5 separate regions of the Homo sapiens genome follow, and regions 1, 3, 4 and 5 are each linked to region 2. The links are contacts of gene promoters, found by promoter capture Hi-C in human tissues and cell types (Jung and others, 2019). All regions are on one chromosome and are shown on one strand. The core of a region is centred on a gene start or on the middle of the fragment in contact, and the rest is flanking DNA. Distances in the headings are between cores, read along the strand shown.

Evidence for each region. The method cuts DNA at HindIII sites, captures the fragments that hold promoters and counts their contacts. A contact is called where the count stands out against the background at its distance.
Region 1: a contact is called between a fragment that was not itself captured here and the fragment with the promoter of SLC8A2 in region 2, in 18 of the 25 tissues and cell types used here (H1 embryonic stem cells, IMR-90 fibroblasts, aorta and 15 more).
Region 3: a fragment that was not itself captured here is called in contact with the fragment with the promoter of SLC8A2 in region 2 in 12 of the 25 tissues and cell types used here (IMR-90 fibroblasts, aorta, dorsolateral prefrontal cortex and 9 more).
Region 4: a contact is called between the fragment with the promoter of BBC3 here and the fragment with the promoter of SLC8A2 in region 2, in 2 of the 25 tissues and cell types used here (dorsolateral prefrontal cortex and spleen).
Region 5: a fragment that was not itself captured here is called in contact with the fragment with the promoter of SLC8A2 in region 2 in 8 of the 25 tissues and cell types used here (H1 embryonic stem cells, IMR-90 fibroblasts, bladder and 5 more).

The regions. Positions count from the first base shown.
Region 1 is chr19:47,689,907-47,694,117 of GRCh38, reverse strand. BICRA (BRD4 interacting chromatin remodeling complex associated protein) reads right to left here. Exons shown (of 15, transcript NM_001394372.1): 8 at 1-3. Among named protein-coding and RNA genes, the nearest start is that of EHD2, 21 kb to the left of the region's middle. RefSeq lists enhancers at 1-490, 491-1,050. The HindIII fragment of the contact is 9,551 bases long and covers 1-4,211 here.
Region 2 is chr19:47,470,603-47,475,038 of GRCh38, reverse strand. SLC8A2 (solute carrier family 8 member A2) reads left to right here and starts at 3,146. Exons shown (of 10, transcript NM_015063.3): 1 at 3,146-3,250. The HindIII fragment of the contact is 16,110 bases long and covers 1-4,436 here.
Region 3 is chr19:47,670,685-47,675,431 of GRCh38, reverse strand. It overlaps BICRA (BRD4 interacting chromatin remodeling complex associated protein), which reads right to left. Exons shown (of 15, transcript NM_001394372.1): 3 at 1,817-1,862; 4 at 1,670-1,712. The coding sequence starts at 1,857. Among named protein-coding and RNA genes, the nearest start is that of EHD2, 40 kb to the left of the region's middle. The HindIII fragment of the contact is 5,493 bases long and covers 1-4,747 here.
Region 4 is chr19:47,228,804-47,233,672 of GRCh38, reverse strand. It overlaps BBC3 (BCL2 binding component 3), which reads left to right and starts at 2,474. Exons shown (of 4, transcript NM_014417.5): 1 at 2,474-2,744. RefSeq lists enhancers at 938-1,207, 634-1,257, 1,967-2,086 and silencers at 2,227-2,456, 2,597-3,316. The HindIII fragment of the contact is 48,720 bases long and covers 1-4,869 here.
Region 5 is chr19:47,627,441-47,631,819 of GRCh38, reverse strand. All of the region lies in intron 1 of BICRA (BRD4 interacting chromatin remodeling complex associated protein), which reads right to left. Among named protein-coding and RNA genes, the nearest start is that of BICRA, 20 kb to the right of the region's middle. RefSeq lists an enhancer at 4,354-4,379. The HindIII fragment of the contact is 9,138 bases long and covers 1-4,379 here.

The sequences.
Region 1 (4,211 bases), core at 1,477-3,976, 220 kb before region 2:
GATCTGGGCAGGGGAGGGAGGGAGAGGGGAGGGGCGGGGGTCAGAACCAACCATAGCTCCTGTTGCCCCAAGACACTGGGGTCCCCAGCCATCCCCGCCAGAAGCCCCCTTCCTAGCCCACACCCATCCTGAGAGAGGAGCCCACCACGGCTGCCCTTCCCTCCCTCGCCTCTCATTCCCCACAGCACCCCCTCCACCTGCCCTCGACCTCTGTCCCCCACCGCAGCTCCTCCACATTTCTCTGGCCTCCGATCTCAACCCCACTTCTGCCCCATTCCCCCCACCCCTCGCAGTTCCCCAGACAAAGGCGAGCCCTGCAGGGTTGGGGTGGCAGCAGCAGAGGAAGCAGAGGCAGTGGTGGCGGTGGCAGCAGGGGCACCACACCCGCTGCCCAGCAGGAGGCAGGAGGGCCGGGCGGCGAGCACAGCAGCGGGGAAGGAGGGCAGGCAGGGCAGCGTCCCAGCCGCCAGCCCCCACCAGCCCATCCAGCCAAGTCAAGGCAAAGAGACACCAGCATGATGCTGTGTACCATGGCTCGGGGTTGATGGCCACGGCACGGGGGCTGCCGAGAATACGGATGGCCACACAGGGACAGGCCTGGGTTCACAGCCACGTGTGGACCTCTGGATGCGGGCATGGGAAGGCCTGGACCCCCTTCTAAGTGTCCTGGGCACCTGCCTCTGTGTGCCTGTGTGTCCATGGCTGCAGGCCTACCTGGGCGCCACGTGAGCTTGCAGGTACAAGCGTGCATGCGTGTGCACGACGTACCAGACTCTGATGAAGCCTGTGTCTGCAAGCACACGCGATCTGGTGCTAGTTCTGTCACACGCACACAGCCACCTCGCCTAAAGCATGTCTCAGACGGAGCACCTTGCCGTTCTGGACCCTCCTCCCAAAGAATCATAACCAGAGCAGCCACTGTGTAACCAGTGGGCACCAGCTGTGCACCCAACACTGGGCTGGCACCGTGATACTTGCTGTCACAGAATCTGCATCCTAGTAACAGCTCATGCTGATCTAACACGAATGGCCGGCCTCCCGCATCCATTTGTGTGATCTCTCCCTAGCCCTGAGGGCAGTGGTAACACTGGACCCATTTCACAGATAAGAAACTGAGGCCAAGGCTCCAAAACTGGTCCAGACTCTCCAGGCTGGTGAAGGCGGAACTGAGGCCTTTACACTGCTCAGTGACTTCTGAGCCATTTCTCAAAGCTGACTGAGTTCAGGCTCAGAGGGCTCAGGATATCTGCCCGAGGACAGCCAGCACCACCACACTCCAGAACCGGGCATCTCGGCATGACATCAGATTCACCACCAGCTTTGGCCTCTAAGTCCCAGGGCCCTTCCAGCATCCCTTCCAAGCTGGGCCCTGAGTAACTTCTGACAGTTAAAGAACCAAACCAAACCAATCAATCAATCAGTCTTCAAAAGGTTTGCCACCTCTAAGAAGAGATGAGAGGCGCAGTCCTTGGCGCTGTGTACGGCTGGTGGGACTGCCTCCTGGAAGGCAGCTTGGTCTGGGGACTTTGAAAGGGTCACAACTTTGACCTGGAAATTCCCCTCCAGGAATCTGTGATGAAGAATATTCGGCCGGGCACGGTGGCTCACGCCTGTAATCCCAGCACTTTGGGAGGCTGAGGCGGGCAGATAACCAGAGGTCAGGAGTTCGAGACCAGCCTGATCAATATGATGAAACCCTGTCTCTACTAAAAATACAAAAATAATTAGCCGGGCATGGTGGCATGCACCTGTAATCCCAGTTACTCAGGAGACTGAGGCTGGAGAATTGCTTGAACCCAGGAGGCGGAGGTTGTAGTGAAATGAGATCGCGCCACTGCACTCCAGCCTGGGCACAAGAGTGAAACTCCGTCTCAAAAAAAAAAAAGAATATTCAAGTACTTGCTATGGGGTTGCCCACTTTGGGAGCATTTACAATAGAGGAAAAGGAGAAATGACTCAAATGGCCAATGGCAGGTGCGTCGCTGAGTCGGAGAAAAGAGAACTGGCCCACTCAGTAGGTTCCAAGGGCTCAGGGAGGTGGCCCACATGCAGCGGCACTCCAATGCTACATGAAATAGGAGAATAATACAACATTACAGGATCCCTGGGCACCTGGTAAAGTTGGATTATGGACAGAGGATATGACAACAGTATCATGTCAATGCTGTCTGCTTTATTTCTTTGCAGTATGATGGTTAAGTAAGAGAATGTCCTTGTTCTCCAAGGCTGAAATATTATACTAAAATATTAAGGGGTAGGCTGGCCGCGGTGGCTCACGCTTGCAATCCCAGCACTTTGGGAGGCCAAGGCAGGTGGATCACTTGAGCCCAGGAGTTTGAGACCAGCCTAGTCAACATGGTGAAACCCCATCTGTACTAAAAACACAAAAATTAGCAGGGTGCGATGTGTGCCTGTAATCCCGGCCACTCAGGAGGCTGAGGCAAGAGAATTGCTTGAACCTGGGAGGCAGAGGCTACAGTGAGCCAAGATTGTACCACTGCACTCCAGACTAGGCGACAGAGTGAGACTCAGACTCAAAAATAAATAAATACATAAATAAATAAAATAAAATATTAAGGGGCAAACGGGTATAATGGTTGCAACTTACTCTCAACTGATTCAGAAAAAAGTGTACACAGAATGAGAATGCTAAGGTCAAGGCAGATGTAGCAAAAGGCTGACAATGGGTAGACGTGGGAGGCAGCCACCAACAATCCTCACCTCCTTGTGTTCAGTCCCCTCCCATATGCTGGTCTTTGTGGCCAATAGAATTTGGCAGAAGTGATTATATGACACTTCCAAGATTAGTTATAAAAAGCCTGCGGCTCCCATCCTGAGCATTCTGTCTGTTTCTATTGGGTCACTCACTTTGCGGGAAGCCAACCGCTGTGTGTCATGTGCTGCCCTTTGGAGAGGCCCACTGAGGAAGCAATTGAGGCCTCCTGCTAATAGCCACACAAGTGAGCGTGGGAGCAGGTTCTCCAGATCAGTGGGACCTTCAGATGACCACAACTTCATGGGAGATCCAGAGCTAGAACCTCCTAGCTAAGCTGCTTTCAGATTCCTAATGTTTAGAAACAGTGTGAGACACGTGAATACTTGCTGTTTGAAGCTGCTAAGTTTTGAGGGTAATTTCCTGCATAGCAATAGATAACTAATACATCTAGTTGAGGAGTAAAGAACTCCTATGAGCTCTCTGTACTAATTCTGAAACTTTTTATGTGTTTGAAGTCATTTAAACATAAAAAGCTTAAAGATACCAAAAAATTAAAAAAATTTAATTTCATTCTCATCAAAAGTGCGCACACACACACACACACACACAATCCACAAATTAAGTCACATGCCAAATGACTTACTGGGGAAAACAGTTGCAACTCCAAATACAAAGTTCATCTCTCTCATATATAGAGAGACTCTAGAAATCACTAAGAATTACAACTGGTGAAAAAGGGGCAAAGGATATGATCAGACAGTGCACAGAAAAGGAAAGACAAAAGGCTTAAGTATTTTCAGAGCTACTCAACCTCACTTGTAATAAGAGAAATGCACAGCAAAACGCACCCCAGGGCACTATTTTTCACCCTAGGGTACCATTTACCACCCGTCGCATTAGGAATAAAGCCTATGTCTAGTAAAGATGCTTGTATATACTGCCCTTAGGGGTCTCAACTGGCACAATTTGCTACAACTCAAGAGGAACGCAATTCAGCAGTAGCTATCCAAGTTATAAATGCACATTTGCTTTAGTCCAGCAAACAGGCTTCCAGGAAGTAAACAGACCTGCATATGTGGGAAATAACAGGTGAACAAGTAGGCCGGGCGCGGTGGCTCACACCTGTAATCCCAGCACTTTGGGAGGCTGAGGCGGGTGGATCACCTGAGGTCAGGAGTTTGAGACCAGCCTGGCCAACATGGTGAAACCCCGTCTCTATTAAAAATACAAAAATTAGCTGGGCATGGTGGCGTGCACCTGTAATCCCAGCTACTAGGGAGGCTGAGTCAGGAGAATTGCTTGAACCTGGGAGGCGGAGGTTGCAGTGAGCCAGTATCACGCCATTGCACTCCAGCCTGGGCAAAAAGAGCGAAACTCTGTCTCAAAAACAAAAACAAAAACAAAACAGGTGAACAAGTTGTTTCCTGCAGCTTCGTGTAGAACGCCAAAATCTGGATATGGTCTAAAGTGCATCAATATGGCATTTCCTGGGGAA
Region 2 (4,436 bases), core at 1,897-4,396:
TTGGGGGAGAGGGAATCCAAGGCTAGACCCAGATACAGGCCGGAGGTTAGATCCCAGGGTAGAACCCAAGAGAAAGAAATGGGGTGACACCTTAGCAGAAAGGCTAAAAGTTAAACCACTGTGGAACAGATTACGTAAAATGGAAGGGAAAGAGCTGAGGTTAGACCCTAGTGGAGAGAGCTGACATGAGACCCCAGTGGAAAGATCTAGATCTAAGGGTAGATCCCAGTGGAAAGGTAAGGAGCTTGAGCGTTTAGAGGAAAACTTGTGGGTAGAAAGGGCTGCTGTGGGAAAGCAGTGGTCCATTTGTAGCAGAGGGTCTGAGGCTAGACTCCCTATGAATAATGCTGAGGTTGGACCCCAACAAAAAATTGCTATGGCCAGATCCTGTGCAAGGGGCCAGGGTTAAACCCCAGCAGAAAGTGAGCTTAGTTCCCAGTGGAGAGCACTGAGGCAAGACCCAGGGAGAAGACCCAGGCTAGACCATGCTGGAAAGGGCTAAGCTTAGACCTAATCTAAAAAGCCTAGGGGGTTGGGGGCCCAGGGAGTGGGAGACAAGCCTGATTCTCCCAGCCTGTGGTGGTAGGAGTTGCCTTGCCTGTGGTCTTTTGTGTGTGTGTGAGAGACGGAGTCTCATTCTGATGCACTGGTTGGAGTGCAGTGGCGCGATCTCGGCTCACTGCAACCTCCACCTCCTGGTTCAAGCGATTCTCCTGCCTCGGCCTCCTGAGTAGCTGGGATTACAAGCGTACGCCACCACGCCTGGCTAATTTTTTTGTATTTTTAGTAGAGACAGGGTTTCACCGTGTTGGCCAGGCTGGTCTCAAACTCCTGACCTCAGGTGATCTGCCCGCCTCGGCCTCCCAAAGTGCTGGGATGACAGGCGTGAGTCACTGAGCCCGGCCTCCTGTGCTCCGTTCTGTATTACCAGGAGAAGGAATCAGAGGCCTGTGTCTCTAGGATCAGTGGAGGGTGGGAACGATGGAAGTCTTGTCCTCCGTCCACTGCAGGCCAGGAATAGAATCTGGGTCAGCAGGGTTGGGGGATGATCATTCCCTGGGCCGTATCCAGGCTGGGGGCAGGGGTTGGGCAGGACATCTGCTTCCTGGGGGTTCAGGGGAGAGGCAGACACCGTAGTCATTTTGGCCATCTGTCTACCTCCCGCTATGGAGGTCCACTCAGAAGTCTGACCACCAGCACTGACAGGGAAGACCCAGCCACCAGTTCTCTACCGAGCGTTTATGGGAGTTAGGAGCTCAGCAACTCCTGGCCACCCCTGTCTTCACCCTCTTTCCCAGAAGCCAGGCCCAGGCGTGGGAAGTTGGAGGAAGCCGGATCCTCTCCCTCCCCTGGCCAGCAGGCCTGACGGTGTCCAGCCAGGACTGGCAGTGGGCAGGACCGGTGGCACGAGCAAGGCCCCCTCCCTCCCACTGTCCGCCTCTAGAGAAGGAGCACTCCACACCGACTAACACGCCATCACCCCCTGTTGTGGGGGGGAGCAGGATTGGGGGTGGGTGTAGTGCTGGTGTGCCTTGCAGAGGTGTGTGCTTGCGTGGGGGTATGTGTGTGGGCCCATCGCAGGGTGCATGAGTTTGTGTCTTCAGGAGCCCAGGCCACCTGCCTGGCCCTTTGCAGTTCATTTCTTTCTTTTTTTTTTTTTTTTTTGGAGATGGAGTCTCACTCTGTCACCCAGGCTAGAGTGCGGTGGCATGATCTCAGCTCACTGCAGCCTCCACCTCCCAGGTTCAAGCGATTTCTCCTGCCTCAGCCTCCCAAGTAGCTGGGATTACAGGCGTGTGCCACCTGGCCTGGCTAATTTTTGTATTTTTAGAAGAGACAGGGTTTCGCCATGTTGGCCAGGCTGGTCTCCAACTCCTGACGTCAAGTGATCTGCTCGCCTCAGCCTCCTAAAGTGCTGGGATTACAGGCGTGAGCCACCGCACCCAGCCTGCAAGTCTCTTCTTGACCTGACCCGTCCTCAGCCTGGGGAATTGTGCGGTGCAGCAGTTAAGGGTGTAGAATCTGGAGCCATATTTACCACCTCATGCCTTGGTTTCCCTGTCTGTAAGTGAAGCTCATAATAGCATTTACCTAAATTTATAAAAAACATTAGAACATGCCAGGTGCGGTGGCTCTCACCTGTGCGGTGGCTCTCACCTGTAATCTCAGCGCTTTGGGAGGCCGAGGCAGAAGGATTGCTTAAGCCCGGGAGTTGGAGACTAGCCTAGGTAAAATAGTGAGACCCCGTCTCTTAAAAAAAATGAAGAGAAAAAAAGCCTGGCGTGGTGGTGGTGGGCACCTGTAGTCCCAGCTACTCGGGAGGCCAAGGCAGAAGGATCGCTTGAGCCCAGGAGTTGGAGACCAGCCTGGGTAACATGGTGAGATCCCATCTCCTAAAAAAAAAAAATGGAGGGAAAAAGCCTGGCGTGGTGGTGGCGGGCACCTGTAGTCCCAGCTACTCAGGAGGCTGAGGCAGGAGGATTGCTTGAGCCCAGGAGGTTGAGGCTGCAGTAAGCCAAGATCGTGCCACTGCACTCCAGCCTGGGTGACAGAGTGAGACCCTGTCTCAAATAATAATAATGTGCTGCCGATGCCAGGCACGTGGTCAGGGCTGCCTGTATGTATGGCAGCTGTTGTTATTCTTATTAATGGGTGTCTTTGTGGTTGTTTCTGGCCTCCTTTGTGAGGCTGTGCAGGCACAGTATGTGAATTTGGATCTGACTCCAGCTAAACATTCTTGCCCTCCCCCTAGTTCTGTAAGTCTGTAACTATTTGTAGCTGTTGGCCCTTGTATGGCTGGGAGACTGCGTGCGTGTGTGTGTGTGCGTGTGTGTGTGTGTGTGTTGGGGGGCGGGGGCTGCTTCTGAAACACACAGGAGCGCCCTCCGGTGCTGTCCCCTGCCTCTGGTGCTGAACCCGGAGGCTGGGGAGGAGGCTCGGGCTCCCTGCTCCCCCAGGCCCCTCCCCGGGCCTCCCCCCGCCTCCCGCACCGCCTTCCCTCTGCCCGCCTCCGCCTCCTCCCCCTCTCTCCGGCTCCTCCCCCTCCCTCGCTCCCTCGCCGCCTCCCCCTCCCCCGTGTCCCTCCCCTCTCCTCTTCTCCTCCCTCTATCCCCTCTCCCTCCCCTCCTCCCCGGCTCTCCCTCTCAGTCTCAGGCTTTTCTCTCTCTCAATCTCTCTCTCTCTTTCGGGCGGAGTCGCCCACCACTGCCAGCCCAGCGCTGGGGGGACCTGCTCCAGGCTGTAGCCGCAGGTAAGAGACCCCATTGGTGGGGAGGTGGGGGCGTGGGAAAAGGACGGGGTTACCCCAGGTGCGGAGTGGGGGCGGTTCGGGAAGCCTGGAGCTGGCTTCCCTGGGCTGGTTTATGGAGGTGGGGGGCTGCCTGGCCCAGCACGCGTACCTTCTGTGGGGTGGGAGTGCCACCAGCCGCCCCAACACCTTCAGTCCCTCCTGGTTCTCGGGCGGCTGGGGAGGGGGACCGCCTGGGTACTGGGGGGCGAGGACACCCCGCCCCCACCCCGTCTGGGGCACCCCCCCTCGCGCTCTCTACCTCTGCCCCCGCCTTCCTGTGTCTGGGTCTCATCTTTCTGTCTCTCCACATGTCTCAGGGGTCTCTGTCTAGCAGAGTCTGGCCGCCTCTGGGAGTCCCTGTCTCTCAGTCTCTCACTCCTGTCTCCCTCTCTCTGTGTCTCTGTGCCGGGGTCTGTTCGGAGTCTCTCTGGGGCTCTGTCTCTAAGTCCTGGGTTTCTCTCTCCTTTCCTCTTGCGCCATCTCTGTTTCTCTGTGTCTCTGTGTCTCTGCCTCTCTCCCTTGTCTCAGCTTTCCTGTGTCTCTCTCTGTCTCTGCTTTCTCTGTGTCTCTGTCTCTTCCCATGTCCGCATGTCTCTCTCTCTCTCTCTCTCTCTCCCTCCCTCCCCATCTCCCCCTCGTCTCCATCTCTGTCTCTGGATATCTCAGTCTCTGTTTCTCTCTCTCTTTCCTCTTCTCTGGCTCTCCCTGGGAGCCAGTGCACCCTCCTCCCACACACCTTTGTCTCCGCCCCTGGCAGGGGGGACCTGGAGGAATTAGACCCCCCCACCCGCAGAGTGGGCTCCCCCAGGCCTGGAGTCCTCTAAACTCCTCTCCCCACTTCAGCAGAGCTCCCCTGCTCTCTCCACTCCTCCCAGCCGGCACCCACCCCAGCTCTCCCCTGAGGACCGAGCCCACCTCCCCCTGCCTTGTTTCTGGCGTTCTGAGGCCGGTCCTTCTTGCAGTTTAACCGGTAGCCTCTGTAGTAGAGATGAGACCAGACCTCCCTTCAATCTAACCTCCCCAGTCTTCCTCGTGTAACTGGACCAGTCCTTCCTGCCGTCTCACTTCCATACCTCTTGCTGTTTGTCCAGCTCTTGATTCATTCATTCTTGTTGATAATTACTGAGCGCCTTTCCTGCTCTGGGCA
Region 3 (4,747 bases), core at 1,013-3,512, 200 kb before region 2:
CCTACCATCCGGGCACCTGACAAGCCATGCGGTGCCATCTCTGGAAGGGCAGGGCATTCTCAGATGCTTAGCACCATCCTTAGTGCCCAGAACAGGCCCTGGCATCCACATATGTGCCCAGTGAATGTATGTCCATGGCTCGGGCTTCCCTAATTTCTTGTTCCATCTGGACATCTCTCCAGAACCCCAACTTGTACATCCACCAGCACCACCTGGACTTCTGGAATCTTCCCCAAATTCCCAACTTCAGAAAATGGCACCAGAATCCACTCAGTTGCTCAAGCCAAAATCCAGGAGCCATGGTGGACACTCTCTCCCCCTCAACATCGAGTCCACCAGCAAGTCTAGTTGATGCCACCTCCCAGATAGATCCCAAATCCAGTGCCACATGCCTCCCCCACTGCCTGCACCATGGCCCAGGCTGCCATCATCCCATTGCTCATGCCTCTGCTCTATAAATTATTTGAAACCTCTCCTTTCAAGAGGTGGAGCTCAATTCCCCTCCCTCTGAGTGCTGGCCAGACTGACTGATTAGCTTCTAGTGAATACAGTGTGATGGGAGGAAGGGTGTGGGACTTTGGAGACTGGGTCATTAAGGGCACTGCGGGTTCCTCCTGTGTCCTCTCTCGGATCACTCGTTCTGGGGGAAGCCAGCTGCCATGCTGTGAAGACACTCAAGCAGCACTAAGGAGAGGCCCCCGTGGTGAGGAACTGAGGCCTCCTGCCAACAGCCACAGGAATGAGTCCTGGTGGAAGCACATCTGCCAGCCCCAGTCAAACCTTTGGATGACTGCAGCCCCAGCCTACAGCTTGACTGCAACCTCATGAGAGTCCCTGAGCCTGAACCACCGAGCTAAGCTGCTCCCAGATTCCTGACCTTCAGACACTGCAAGAGCTCTAACAATTGTTGAAGGCACTGCATGCTGGGATAATCTACACAGCCATAGATACTAATACAGCTGCTCAGAGCTCAACAGACTTCTACTTTTCCCCATTTTGTTCCGTTCTCTGGGAAGCAAATCAAATATGGCATTCTCGTGTTTAAGGGCCCATCAGAGCTGCCTGTCACATTCAGAATAAAAATAACAACTCCTCTATCGGGCTTCCAGGCCTACACAACCTGGTGACTTTTACCTACTACAGTCTCACCTCCTACTAGTTTTCCCTTCAGTTTGGCCCCATCAGCCTCCTTCCTGTTCCTCAACCATGCCAAGCTCTCTCCCACCTTTGAACTTGCTCTTCCCTCTGCCAGGAGCACCGGGCCTGGCCACCTACCTCCCTGTGATCCTTCAGGTCTCACCTTCAATGTTACCTCCCTCGTGTGACCCTTTCTGATCACACTATCTAAAGGAGCCCCTGGGACCCATTTATTTTCTTTTAAACCTCTTTCATTGTGCAAATGACATTATTATTTTTTATCATACTCTACATGGTCCTTTTCACCATTACCTTTATTAGTGACTGGTTTCTTTGTTTCCCAAGGAGGTGTCCATGGAAGGAGGACAGGGGATTACCATGAGTTTTGCTCATGGCCGTAACTCCAGTGCCTGGCGTTAGAAGCCACAAGGCAGATGGCTACCTCATCAAAGGGACATGTCTCTCCCTGTCCCTCACTCCCAATTAGACAGCCCCCCACTCAGGGAATGCCTCTCCCTGCGCCCATGCTTACCTTCTCGGATCCATGCAAGAAGTCATTGAGGGCCTGTGGGTCACTGGAAGAGAAGAGGAAGAGACGCTGAGGAGGTAAGGAGCTGGGGAGGGGAGGGAAGGGAGGGGGTTGAGACAGAGGGCAGGGGGTGGGGAGCCCGTTACTCACCAAATCACGTCTAGTAAGCATCTCCCATCCTCATCATCCATCGCCACTGGATGGGGTGGGGTCAGGAAGAGGGCGAGGGAGACAAGGTTAGATTTTGGCAGCTTGCCTGGCCCCCTCCCTTCAGGGGAGCCCCCTGGAGGGGGTCAGAGTTTCTGTTCCCTTGAGTCCATGGGGATAGATGGGGACAAGGAATACCTCCCAGGTGCCCTCCCAGCCAGAAACCCCTGACCAGGGACAGGGTCCTTTTCCTCCCACTCCAACTCTCCCAGCACCTGATGATGATAATGATGATATCAACCAAGACTAAGTGAGTCCTGACCATGCCTCACACACACTAAGCTAATCCTCAGGGTATCCCAGGAGGGGTCCCACGGCCTGTACTTTGCAGATGAGAACTGGAGGCACCGGGAGGGTCATCCTCCGTCTCCCAGCAAGCAGGCAGCAGAGCCAGGCCTGGAACCTAGGAAGCCTGGCTCCTGAGCCCTGCTCTTCACCACCCTGCTGTCCTGCCTCCCCAGACATGAGGCGTGTGGTGGGGGTCTGTCCTACATATAAACGGGTGAAGGAGTGAGGGAGCCAGTGTAGACAAGAAGGGCTTTGTGGCTCAAGGCTCTGGGTGACCCTTGAAGATGTCTGCAATGTGTTCCCAAGGAAGGGGAGGGTGGTGGGGAAACTGAGGCAGAAGCAAGGGAGAGGGGCTCATGAGGAGGGGCGCTCTGAGTCAGAGAAGCCACCGGGGCAAGGCTGAGCCCTATGGTCTGAATGATGAGGATGAGGATGGCTAACATTTGTCGAGTGCTCACTAGGTGCCAGGCACTGTCTGAGCACTTCAGCAATGTTAGCTTGTTCCACCCCCATAGGGAAGGGATCGTTAGTCCCATCTGACACCAGGGGAAGCAGGTGTTCTCTGTATTTATTTACCCATCCACCCTCCCATCCATCTAGCCTTCCCTCCCCTCAAACACCCCTCCAAATATTCCTCCAACCCTCCAAAACATCCCTCCCTTCCCTGCCTCCATCCATCCATCCATCCATCCACTTCTTTATCTTTCCAAACATTTCTCCAAACATCCAACCAGCCCTCAGAAACATTTAACTAGCCAACCCTCCCTCCAAAGCTTCCTCTTTCCTCCCTCTAGCCATCAGTCTCCTCCTCCCTCCATCTTTCCATCCACCTACCTACCCATCCCTCCATCCTTCCACCCATCTACTTACCCATCCTCCATCCTTCCATCCATCTACCTACCCATCCTCCATCCTTCCATCCATCTACCTACCCATCCTCCATCCTTCCATCCATCTACCTACCCATCCTTCATCTATCCATCTACTTACCCATCCCTCCATCCTTCCATCCATCTACCCACCCATCCCTCCATCCTTCCACCCATCTACTTACCCATCCTCCATCCTTCCATCCATCTACCTACCCATCCTCCATCCTTCCATCCATCTACCTACCCATGCTCCATCCTTCCATCCATCTACCTACCCATCCTCCATCCTTCCATCCATCTACCTACCGATCCCTCCATCCATCCACCCATCCCTCCATCCTTCCATCCATCTACCCACCCATCCCTCCATCCTTCCATACATCTACCTACCAATCCCTCCATCTTTCTACCCATCTACCCACCCACCCCTCCATCCTTCCATCCATCTACCCACCCATCCCTCCATCCTTCCACCCATCTACTTACCCATCTCTCCATCCATCTACCTACCCATCCCTCCATCCTTCCACTCATCTACCTACCCATCCCTCCCATCCTTCCATCCATCCACCTATTCATCCCTCCATCCATCTAGCTACCCATCCCTCCATCCTTCCATCTACTTGCCCATCCCTCCATCCTTCCATCCATCTACCTACCCATCCCCTCCATCCTTCTACCCATCTACCCACCCATCCCTCCATCCTTCTACCCGTCTACCTACCCATCCCTCCATCCTTCCATCCATCTACCTACCCATCCCTCTATCCTTCCAAGCTTCCATCCAAACACCCCTCCTTCCCTTCTGCCAAATACCCACACAGACCCATCCTTCCAGCCACTCATCCCTTCATTACTTCCTGCACCCTCTGCTCCCGTCTCCTCCCAATGACACATACAATACACAATGGAAAAGAAGACCTGATCCCTGAATGGTGGGAATTTACAGCTCAGGACCGTGGAGTTCCCTTACCCTCTTTTTTTGTTGGGGTAGGGGGTCCCAAACCTCACTGACGATGTGACAACTGCCACGGGTCACCATTCCCACCCAAAAACCCCACATATAAAATCTTACATGCACCCTCAGCTGGTTCACAGCCCCTCACCCTGACAGCATACTCTGAACTCCCCTAACAGGGGCCTCCTTAGTGCCACCCCCAAGTCCTCCATCCCCAGTGCTCAGTGACATTATGAAGAGCCCTGACCAGGGACCCCCCACAGTGGGCTGGGGCATATTTGCTGAATCAAGTTGTGAAAAATCTAATGACACACGCATGTTTCATGCCAAAACATGCATGTGGGTAAGAAATGTGACACATACTTTTCCAGGGTTCACGGATCACCCTCCCTGCAGCACAGAGACACATGCATCTCCAGAGCCCCACACGCCAATTACTCTACCTCTCAGGGGCTGGCTGTGGGGAGTGTCCCCGGGGAGGTGCCTCCCGGGCTCTCGCTGCCTTAGAAGTGGTGAGGACGTACTCTCACCACCTGCTCCACATCCCAGCCCCACCAGGCTTCCTCCCCCTGTGTCACCAGGTCCATGACCTATGAGCCCCTTCCCTCCCCAACCCGCTCACAGAAGGCATGCAAAGGCATGGTCTGCAAAGAATCTGGAGAAAAGGGGAAAGGGGCAGAGAGAAAGATTTTGCTTGCAGCTAATGCAGAGGCAGGGTGATGGCCCAGATGACCCAGGAGGCCCAGGTGGGAGAAG
Region 4 (4,869 bases), core at 1,225-3,724, 240 kb after region 2:
CTGGGCCAGGTGCAGTGGCTCACGCCATAATCCCAGCACTTTGGGAGGCCGAGGAGGGCAGATCACGAGGTCAGGAGATCGAGACCATCCTGGCTAACATGGTGAAACACTGTCTCTACTAAAAAATACAAAAAATTAGCCGGGTGTGGTGGCAGACGCCTGTACTCCCTGCTACTGGGGAGGCTGAGGCAGAAAGGCCTGAACCTGGGAGGCGGAGCTTGCAGTTTGCTGAGATCGTGCCACTGCACTCCAGTCTGGGCAACAGAGTGACATTCCGTCTCAAAAAAAAAAAAAAAAAAAAGCTGAGTGCAGTGGCTCACACCTGTAATCCCAGCACTTTGGGAGGCCAAGACAGGCGGATCCCGAGGTCAGGAGTTTGAGACCAGCCTGGCCAATATGGTGAAACCGCATCTCTACCAATAATACAAAAATTAGCTGGGCATAGTGGCGCACACCTGTAGTCCCAGCTACTAGGGAGGCTGAGGCAGAAGACTTGCTTGAACCCAGGAGGCGGAGGTGGCAATGAGCCGAGATCATGCCACTGAACTCCAGCCTGGGCGACAGCGCGAGACTCTGTCTCAAAAAAAAAAAAAAAAGTAAGATCCATGTAAGTGATGTCATATGTCATAATCCATGGTTTACTCATGACCCACAGTTTGGAAAACACCAGGAAGAAGGAAGGGACAATGAATAATCGGGGAAAGCGAAAGAGGAGGGAAAGTGAAAGAGGGAGGAAAGCTGAGGAGTTCCCAATGTTGCAAATGGGGAGATTTCACGTGAGATATAGATTACCTGCATCTCTTGGGGGAGCTAAGAGTGTGTACTTGGAGGCAGTCAAGTTTGAGAAGTCTGACATCCTTACTCAGCCAGCCCCACACTAGGCACTGGAAGGTGAGTCACTCTGGTGAGGCGATTGCGATTGGGTGAGACCCAGTAAGGATGGAAAGTGTAGAGGAGACAGGAATCCACGGCTTTGGAAAAAGGAAGGACAAAACTCACCAAACCAGAGCAGGGCAGGAAGTAACAATGAGAAACTGAAAAAGAAACGGAATGGAAAGCTATGAGACAGGATGAAATTTGGCATGGGGTCTGCCCAGGCATGTCCATGCCAGGTGCCCAGGGCTGCTTCCACGACGTGGGTCCCCTGCCAGATTTGTGGTGAGTGTGGCCAGGTGTGCATGCTCCGACGTGTGTGCAGTGGGCCAGTTAGCAAGAAGCTGTCACAGGTGTGACTTTGTGACATGTGTGGGTGGTCAGTTTCTTCTATGTCTGATTTGGTTTGTGTCTCTGAATGTCAGTTTCTTTCCTTTATTTTTATTTTTAAGACGGAGTTTGCTCTTGTTGCCCAGGCTAGAGTGCAATGGCACTATCTCGGCTCACTGCAACCTCCGCCTCCCGGGTTCAAGCAGTTCTCCTGCCTCAGCCTCCCAAGTAGCTGGGATTACAGGCATGCGCCACAACGCCCGGCTAATTTTGTATTTTTAGTAGAGATGGGGTTTCATCATGTTGGTCAGGCTGGTCTCGAATTCCTGACCTCAGGCAGTCCACGCACCTTGGCCTCCCAAAGTGCTGGGATTACAGGCATGAGCCACCGTGTCGGGCGAATGTCACTTTCTGATAGTTTTAATGTGTTAGCTGTGAAATTGTGTGAGTGCATTTGTGTATGTCCCTGTGGGAGTGTGATTTGGATTTGGCCGTGTATCCAGGTATCCCTGTAACAGGTGTCTGTGTGTATGTGTGTGTCCCCTGTGCCTATCAGCAAGTTTGTGTTTCCTGATAAGCACTCCGCCTATGTCTGTGTGGTTGCACCACCGTGTGTGTGGTGTGGGTGCCTGTTCGGTAGGGTTGTTTGTGAACACAGTTTGTGGGCCCAGGTGTGATCATCAGTGTGGGTGTTTCTGCAACTGTGTGTGGCCCTGTCATTGTGTCCGTCTGCTTGTCCAGGGGACCCTGTTAGTGAGTCTGTGCATTTCCGTCTGGGTGTGTGTAAGTGTGAGCCCCATCAGTATGTGAGTGTGTGTGCTCATGCCCCTGTCCATGGTGTGGATTTGCGAGACTGTGGCCTTGTGTCTGTGAGTACATCCTCTGGGCTCTGCCTGCACGTGACTTTGTGGACCCTGGAACGCCCGTCGGTCGGTCTGTGTACGCATCGCTGGGGGTGTGGATCTGTGGGTCCCAGTCAGTGTGTGTGTCCGACTGTCCCGGTGTCTGGGCGATCTCCCCACACCCCGCCGCACAGCGCCTGGGTCCTCCTTGCCTTGGGCTAGGCCCTGCCCCGTCCCCCGCTGCAGGGAAACCCCCGGCGCGGAGGTAGGGGGGGGCGCGGCGCGCGCCTGCAAGTCCTGACTTGTCCGCGGCGGGCGGGCGGGGCCGTAGCGTCACGCGGGGGCGGGGCGTGGGACCCGCCGGGCGGGGGCGGGGCGGGGCGGGGCGGGGCGGCTTTGGAGCGGGCCCGGGATCCGCCGGGCGGCCTGAGACGCGGCGCGAGCCACATGCGAGCGGGCGCCTGGCGGCGGCGGCGGCGGCACCAGCGATCCCAGCAGCGGCCACGACGCGGACGCGCCTGCGGCCCGGGGAGCAGCAGCAGCCACAGCCACAGCAGCCGCCACTGCAGTTAGAGCGGCAGCAGCAGCGACAGCCACAGCAGCAGCCGCCGCGGAGAGCGGCGCTCGGCGGGCGCGCCCTCCTGAAGGAAGCCGCCCGCCCCCCACCGCCGCCCCCTCCGGCGTGTTCATGCCCCCGGGGTGAGTGTGCGCGCCCCGAATCCTCTCCGGCGGCGATCGGCCAGGCCGGGTGGACTCCCTGGAGGAGGTGACAGGAGTGCAGGCGGAGAGCAGTGTGGGCGCCCTGCCTCCCCACACCGCGCCTCTCCAAACCCCGCGAGGGACCCTGGGCCAGGGTCGCCGGGTGAGAGGCGGCTCGGCGTTGGGGCGCCGGTCTGGGCGCACAGGTGCCTCGGCGGTCTGGCGGGTTTGTTTACAAACAATGGGGTGCGGGCTCGGCAGCGCCCCCTGGCGGCCAGTGCGGCCCCGGGGAAGAGGGTCGACCCCAGGGGTGCCCCAGCCCCCAAAGTCCGGGAGGGGCGGGGGGGCGGCACGGAGGGGCGGCCACACCCAGGGCGCGCGCCCGCTGGGGGCGGCGACGGGGGGCGGCTCGCGGGCCGTGGAGTCTGCGGCTCCTGCGGGCGGGGGCTGCGCCCCAGCAACAGCCGGTTATTGGCCCCGCGCTCGCCTGGCGGGCGGGGCGGGCGCACGTGGCGGCGGTGGGGGGGGCTGTGACAGCGGAGGGGGGTGTCTGGGACCGCCGTGGGAGCGCGCGTGTGCGGGGTTGTGGATCTGCAGGTGTCTCGCCTGGGTGTGTGCGCGTGTCTGGCTCCGAGTTTGTGCTGGGTTCTGCAGGGAGTGGTGGTGTCGATCCAGAGGAATGTTGGGGTTTCTGACCCGTCGGGGTGTCTGCGTGAGTCCCCGCGCCTGTTTGTGTGGGGTTCTGTCTGTGGGTGCCCTGCTTGTGGGGTGGGTGGACCTGCGTGTGTTGTCGGTGAGAGTTGTCTGTGTGTGCTGTTCCGGGATGATACTGGGGGTCTGTGGTGCCTGCGTGTGCTGGGGTGTGGAGGTTGTAGTGTGTGTGTGTTGCTGGAGTGAGCTGTTTGTGTGTTTATGTGTGTGTCTTGCCCGAGCGTGCGATATGTGTGCTTGTGTCTTGCCTGTGTGTTTCTGTCTTGGCTGAGGCCGTCTCTGTATCTCCGGGGCATGTGTCTTTTGCCCAGCGTTTGTGATGCTGCGCCTGCTAAATGCAAATGTCTGTTTTCTGTCCAGGTGTCTGTGTGAGTTGTCAGGTGTGAGTGTGTGTGTGTATGTATGTGTGTGGTGGGGGGTTGTTTCAGTCTGGGTTTGGCTTGTGTGTCTGGCATCAGCGTCTGGGATTTGAGGACCCAGGATCTGTGGGGTCTATGCAGTGTAGACGGTGGGTGTTGCTGGCAGCCTCTGGATGGGGTTGTGTCTGAGCCTGTGTGTGTGTGTGTGTGTTGGGTCTGAGGGGCTTGTCACTGTGATCGGCTGGCTCATGTGTGTCATGTGGGCTGCGTGTGTGTAGTGTTTATGTCAGTCACGTGAGACCAGTGTTTTCTGTGGGTGCGCTAGGTGTGTGTGCTGCTGGGCTGTGTGGGATTAGAGTTAGCTGTAGGGTGTGTGTGTGTGTGTGTTGCTGACAGTTGGTGATGATGTTTGAGGGTTGCGTGAGGAGGGTGGGTTGGTGTCTGGTGGTGTGTTGAGGTCTGATGGCATGTGTCTGTGTGTGCCTGATCTACGTGTGTCCTGAGAGTTGGTGACATGTGGGTGTGTTTTGGGGGTGTTGATGTATGTGTGTCCGTGGGTGTCTGTTTTGTGTTGATATGTGAGTCCAGAGGTGTGCAGGTCTTATCTCTGGAGTGAGTGTGTGTGTGTGGAGAGGGGCATGTTTGGGAACTGAGGCAGTGCCTAGCTTGTGTGTGTGTGTTTGTGTTTGCAAAGGCTGCATTGTGTTTGCATGTGCCCCTGGGCATATCAACAGTGGGTCAGTGTGTGAGACTTTGACAGTTTGGATGTGTGGGGATGGATTGTGCCAGCCAGTGTGCGCAGTATGTAGAGTGCTTGTGATGGTCTGTCTGGATGCTCCTGCTTTGGTCGGGGGTGTGTGTGTATTGTGTGTACTGAGTAGTGATGTCCGAGACTGGGGCCATCTCAGTGTTTGTGTGCAAGTGGGAGGTGGGGTGGGCGGTCAGGCTGGCCAGTCCCGTGTGAGTCCTTGTGTGTGTGCTGTGGGGGCCTCGCTGTGCCTCACTGCCCTCCCTGTGTGCCCGTCGCTGTGTTGGGAAAGTTGTCCCCACCAGCC
Region 5 (4,379 bases), core at 1,096-3,595, 160 kb before region 2:
AAAATTAGCCAGGCGTGGTAGTGTGCACCTGTAGTCCCAGCTACTTGGGAGGCTGAGTCAGGAGAATTGCTTGAACCCAAGAGGCAGAGGCTGCCATGAGCCGGGATCATACCACTGCCCTCCAGCCATACCAATAATTATAATAAACATAAATCGGCCGAGTGCGGTGGCTCACATCTGTAATCCCGGAACTTTGGGAGGCCAAGGCAAAAAGATCACTTGAGGCCAGGAGTTTGAGACCAACCTGGGCAACATAGTGAGTTCCTGCCTCTACAAAAAATTTTTAAAATTAGGCTGGATGTGGTGGCTCATGCCTATAATCCCAGATCTTTGGGAGGCTGAGGAGGGCAGATCACCTGAGGTCAGGAGTTCGAGACCAGCCTGACCAATATGGTGAAACCCTGTCTTTACTAAAAATACAAAAATTAGCCGGGTGTGGTGGCGTGCGCCTGTAATCCCAGCTACTGAGAAGGCTGAGGCAGGAGCATTGCTTGAACCCAGGAGGCGGAGGTTGCAGTGAGCCAAGATTGCGCCACTGCACTCCAGCCTGGGTGACAGAGTATGACTCAGTCTCAAAAAAATAAAATAAAATAAAAAATTAGCCAGATGGGGTGGTGCACATCTGTAGTCCCAGCTATCAGGAGGCTGAGGTGAAAGAATCGCTTGAACCCAGGAGTTCAACGTTACAGTAAGCCTTGATGACTGCACTCCAGAATGGGCAAAAGAGTCAGACTCTGTCTCAAAAAAAACCCCAAAAACATAAATCAACTAAACTTGTGCTTTCCACTATGAGCAGCTTCACGTGACATTTGAGCACTTGAAATATGTCGAGTCCCAACTGAGATGTGCTGTGAGTGTAAAATACACACCAGATTTTGAAAACTTCGTGTGGGGAAAAAAAATAAAAGACTACAACAAGTGTTGGCAAGGATGTGGAGAAACTGGAACCACGTGCACTGCAGGTGGAAATGTGAAATGATGTAGCCACTGCTCCTCCAAAAGTTAGAACAGATCATTACCATACAACCCAGCAATTCCACTCCTAGATATAAACCCAAACAAACTGAAGGCAAAAAGTCAAACAGATACTTAGAGCCTATGTTCACAGCAACGTCGTTCACAATAGCAAAAAGGGGACATGACCCAAGTGTCCATCGATGGCAGAATAGGTAAACCAAATGTGGTCTATCCATCCAATGGAAGATGAACTTAGCCACAAAAAAAGAAAAGAATTCTGATACATGCTACAACAGGGATGAACCATGAAGACATGTAAAGTGAAATCAACACAAAAGGACAAATACTGGATGATTCCATTTACATGAGGTACCTAGAATTAGCCAATATAGGCCGGGCGCAGTGGCTCACACCTGTAATCCCAGCACTTTGGGAGGCCGAAGCGGGCAGATCACGAGGTCAGGAGATGGAGACCATCCTGGCTAACAAAGTGAAACCCCGTCTCTACTAAAAAAAAAACAAAAAGCAAAAAAAATTAGCCAGGCGTGGTGGCGGACGCCTATAGTCCCAGCTACTCAGAAGGCTGAGGCAGGAGAATGGCGTGAACCCAGGAGGCGGAGCTTGCAGTGAGCCGAGATTGCGCCACTGCACTCCAGCCTAGGCGACAGAGTGAGACTCCATCTCAAAAAAAAAAAAAAAAAAAGAATTGGCCAATATATAGAGAGTAGAATAGAGGTAACGAGGTGCTGAGGGAAGGGAGGATAGAGAGTTACTCTTTAATAGGTACAGAGTTTCTATTTGGAATGATGAAAAGGTTCTGGTAATGGATAATGGTGACAGTTACACAATATTAAAGTACTTAATGCCACTGAATTATACACTTAAAAAGAGCTAAAATGGGTGGCCGGGCGCCGTGGCTCATGCCTGTAATCCCAGCATTTTGAGAAGAGGCCACAGCGGGTGGATCACCTGAGGTCAGGAGTTAGAGACCACGCTGGCCAACATGGCGAAACCCCATCTCTATTAAAAATACAAAAATTAGCTGGGTATGGTGGTGGGTGCCTGTAATCCCAGCTACTCAGGAAGCTGAGGCAGAGGAATCACTTGAACCTGCGAGGCAGGGGTTGCAGTGAGTCGAGATCGCACCACTGTACTCCAGCCTGGGCGACAGAGCGAGACTCCGTCTCAAAAAAAACCACACAAAAAAAATAGATATTTGCACACTCATGTTCAAAGCAGCATTATTCGCAATAGCCAAGAGGAGTAAGCAACTCATGTGTTCATCGACAGATAAATGGATAGGCAAAATGTGGTCTATTCATGCAACGGAATATTATTCAACCTTAAAGAGGAGAGAAATCCTGTCACATGCCACACCACGAATAAGCCTTCAGGACAATACAATAAGTGAAATAAGCCAGTGACAGTATGACAAATACTACAGGAGTCCACTTAAATTTGGCACTTAAAGTCAAATTCATAGAGACAGAAAGTTGAATGGAGGCTACTAGGGACTGGGGATGGGGGGAGTTGTTGAATGCATATAAAGTTTCAGTTGGACGCCGGGTGTGGTGGCTCACGCCTGTAATCCCAGCACTTTGGGAGGCCGAGGCGGGTGGATCATGAGGTCAGGAGATTGAGACTATCCTGGCTAACACGGTGAAACCCCGTCTCTACTAAAAACACAAAAAAAATTAGCCGGGCGTGGTGGTGGGCACCTGTAGTCTCAGCTACTTGGGAGGCTGAGGCAGGAGAATGGTTTGAACCCGGGAAGCGGAGCTTGCAGTGAGCCGAGATTGTGCCACTGCACTCCAGCCTGGGCAACACAGCGAGACTGCATCTCAAAAAAATAAATAAATAAAGTTTCAGTTGGGCAAGATGAAAAAGCTCTGGAGATCTGTTACATAATAAAAGTACATTTAACACTACTGAACTGCACATTTAAAAATGATTAAGGCCAGGTGCGGTGGCTCACACCTGTAATCCCAGTACTTTGGGAGGCCGAGGCAGGAGGATCACTTGAGCCCAGGAGTTTGAGACCAGCCTGGGCAACATGGCAAAACCCTGTGTCTACAAAAAAAAATACAAAAATTAGCTGGGTGTGGTGGCATGTGCCTGTAGCCCCAGCTACTCAGGAGGCTGAGGTGGAAGGATCACCTGAACCCAGGATGTTGAGACTGCAATGAACTATGATCATGCCACTGCACTCCAGCCTGGACAACAGAGAGAGACCATGAGCCCCAAACTCCCCACAGAGGTCACCTTTGGAAAAGGAAAGAAGAGGAGATGGTGCAAAGACTTTCGTCGTGTTATATGACTTTTTTCCATATGTAATGATTAACACAGACCTGGCTGCAAATTGGCAAACCCCAAAGCTAAGAGCTAAGGAATCTTATTTTGACCCTGGCATCCAATGCCTCCCCTCCATTTGCAGAATCCTTGAAAGTAACTCAGAAACACCTGGAAAACCACTGGACACCTTACTACTCAGAGGGCAGGCCCCTGACCACAGCAGCCTCACCTGGGAGTTAAGAAATGCAAAGTGTCTGCACCAGCTGACTCAGAACTCACGTGGTAACAGGATCCCCCAGGAACTGGTGTGCAAGTCTAGAAAACTGTGGATCTGCATCACAGCCCAATGTGTCTGCACCAGCCCATACAGACCGAAGAGGGGTTAGTAATAATAATAGCAACAACAGTCAATAGTAATAGCAACCAGCAATGACAAAGTCCTTGTCATGTTGTCATGTGCCAGTCACTCCACAACATATCATCCCAATTAAACCCCACACCCTGGCCCGGCGCGGTGGCTCACACCTGTAATCCCACCACTTCGAGGAGCTGACATGAGTGGATCACGAGGTCAGGGGTTCGAGACCAGCCTGGCCAACATGAAGAAATCCCGTCTCTACTAAAAATACAGAAATTAGCCAGACATAGTGGCATGCGCCTGTAATCCCAGCTACTTGGGAGGCTGAGGCAGAAGAATCGCTTGAACCCGGGAGGTGGAGGTTGCAGTGAGCCGAGATCGTGCCACTGCACTCCAGCCTGGGCAACAGAGCAAGACTCTGTCTCAAAAAACAAAACAAAACAAAACAAACAAACAAAAAACCCACTCATCCTACTCGGTAGGCATTTTAGGTCTGTGGCCCCCTAATCTGCAATTCCAACCTCCAAAAATCTCTAAAGCCATCCTTTTCTTTTTTCCTGGCTCATTGTGGGGCAAAGTGGAACTGCAATGGCTGTCCTTAGATCTCCCTCTTAGTATCAACAGCAGCAGATATATTTGCTGCAGAAATCTTCGCAGAAGTGCTAGCATATGTGCTGACGGGGAGCTGCCTGCCTTGCTGGGGGGTCCCACATCATCCTGTGTGCACTCTGGTCTGAAACGGCCTGAATTTTGAAACACCTACAAGGTCAGT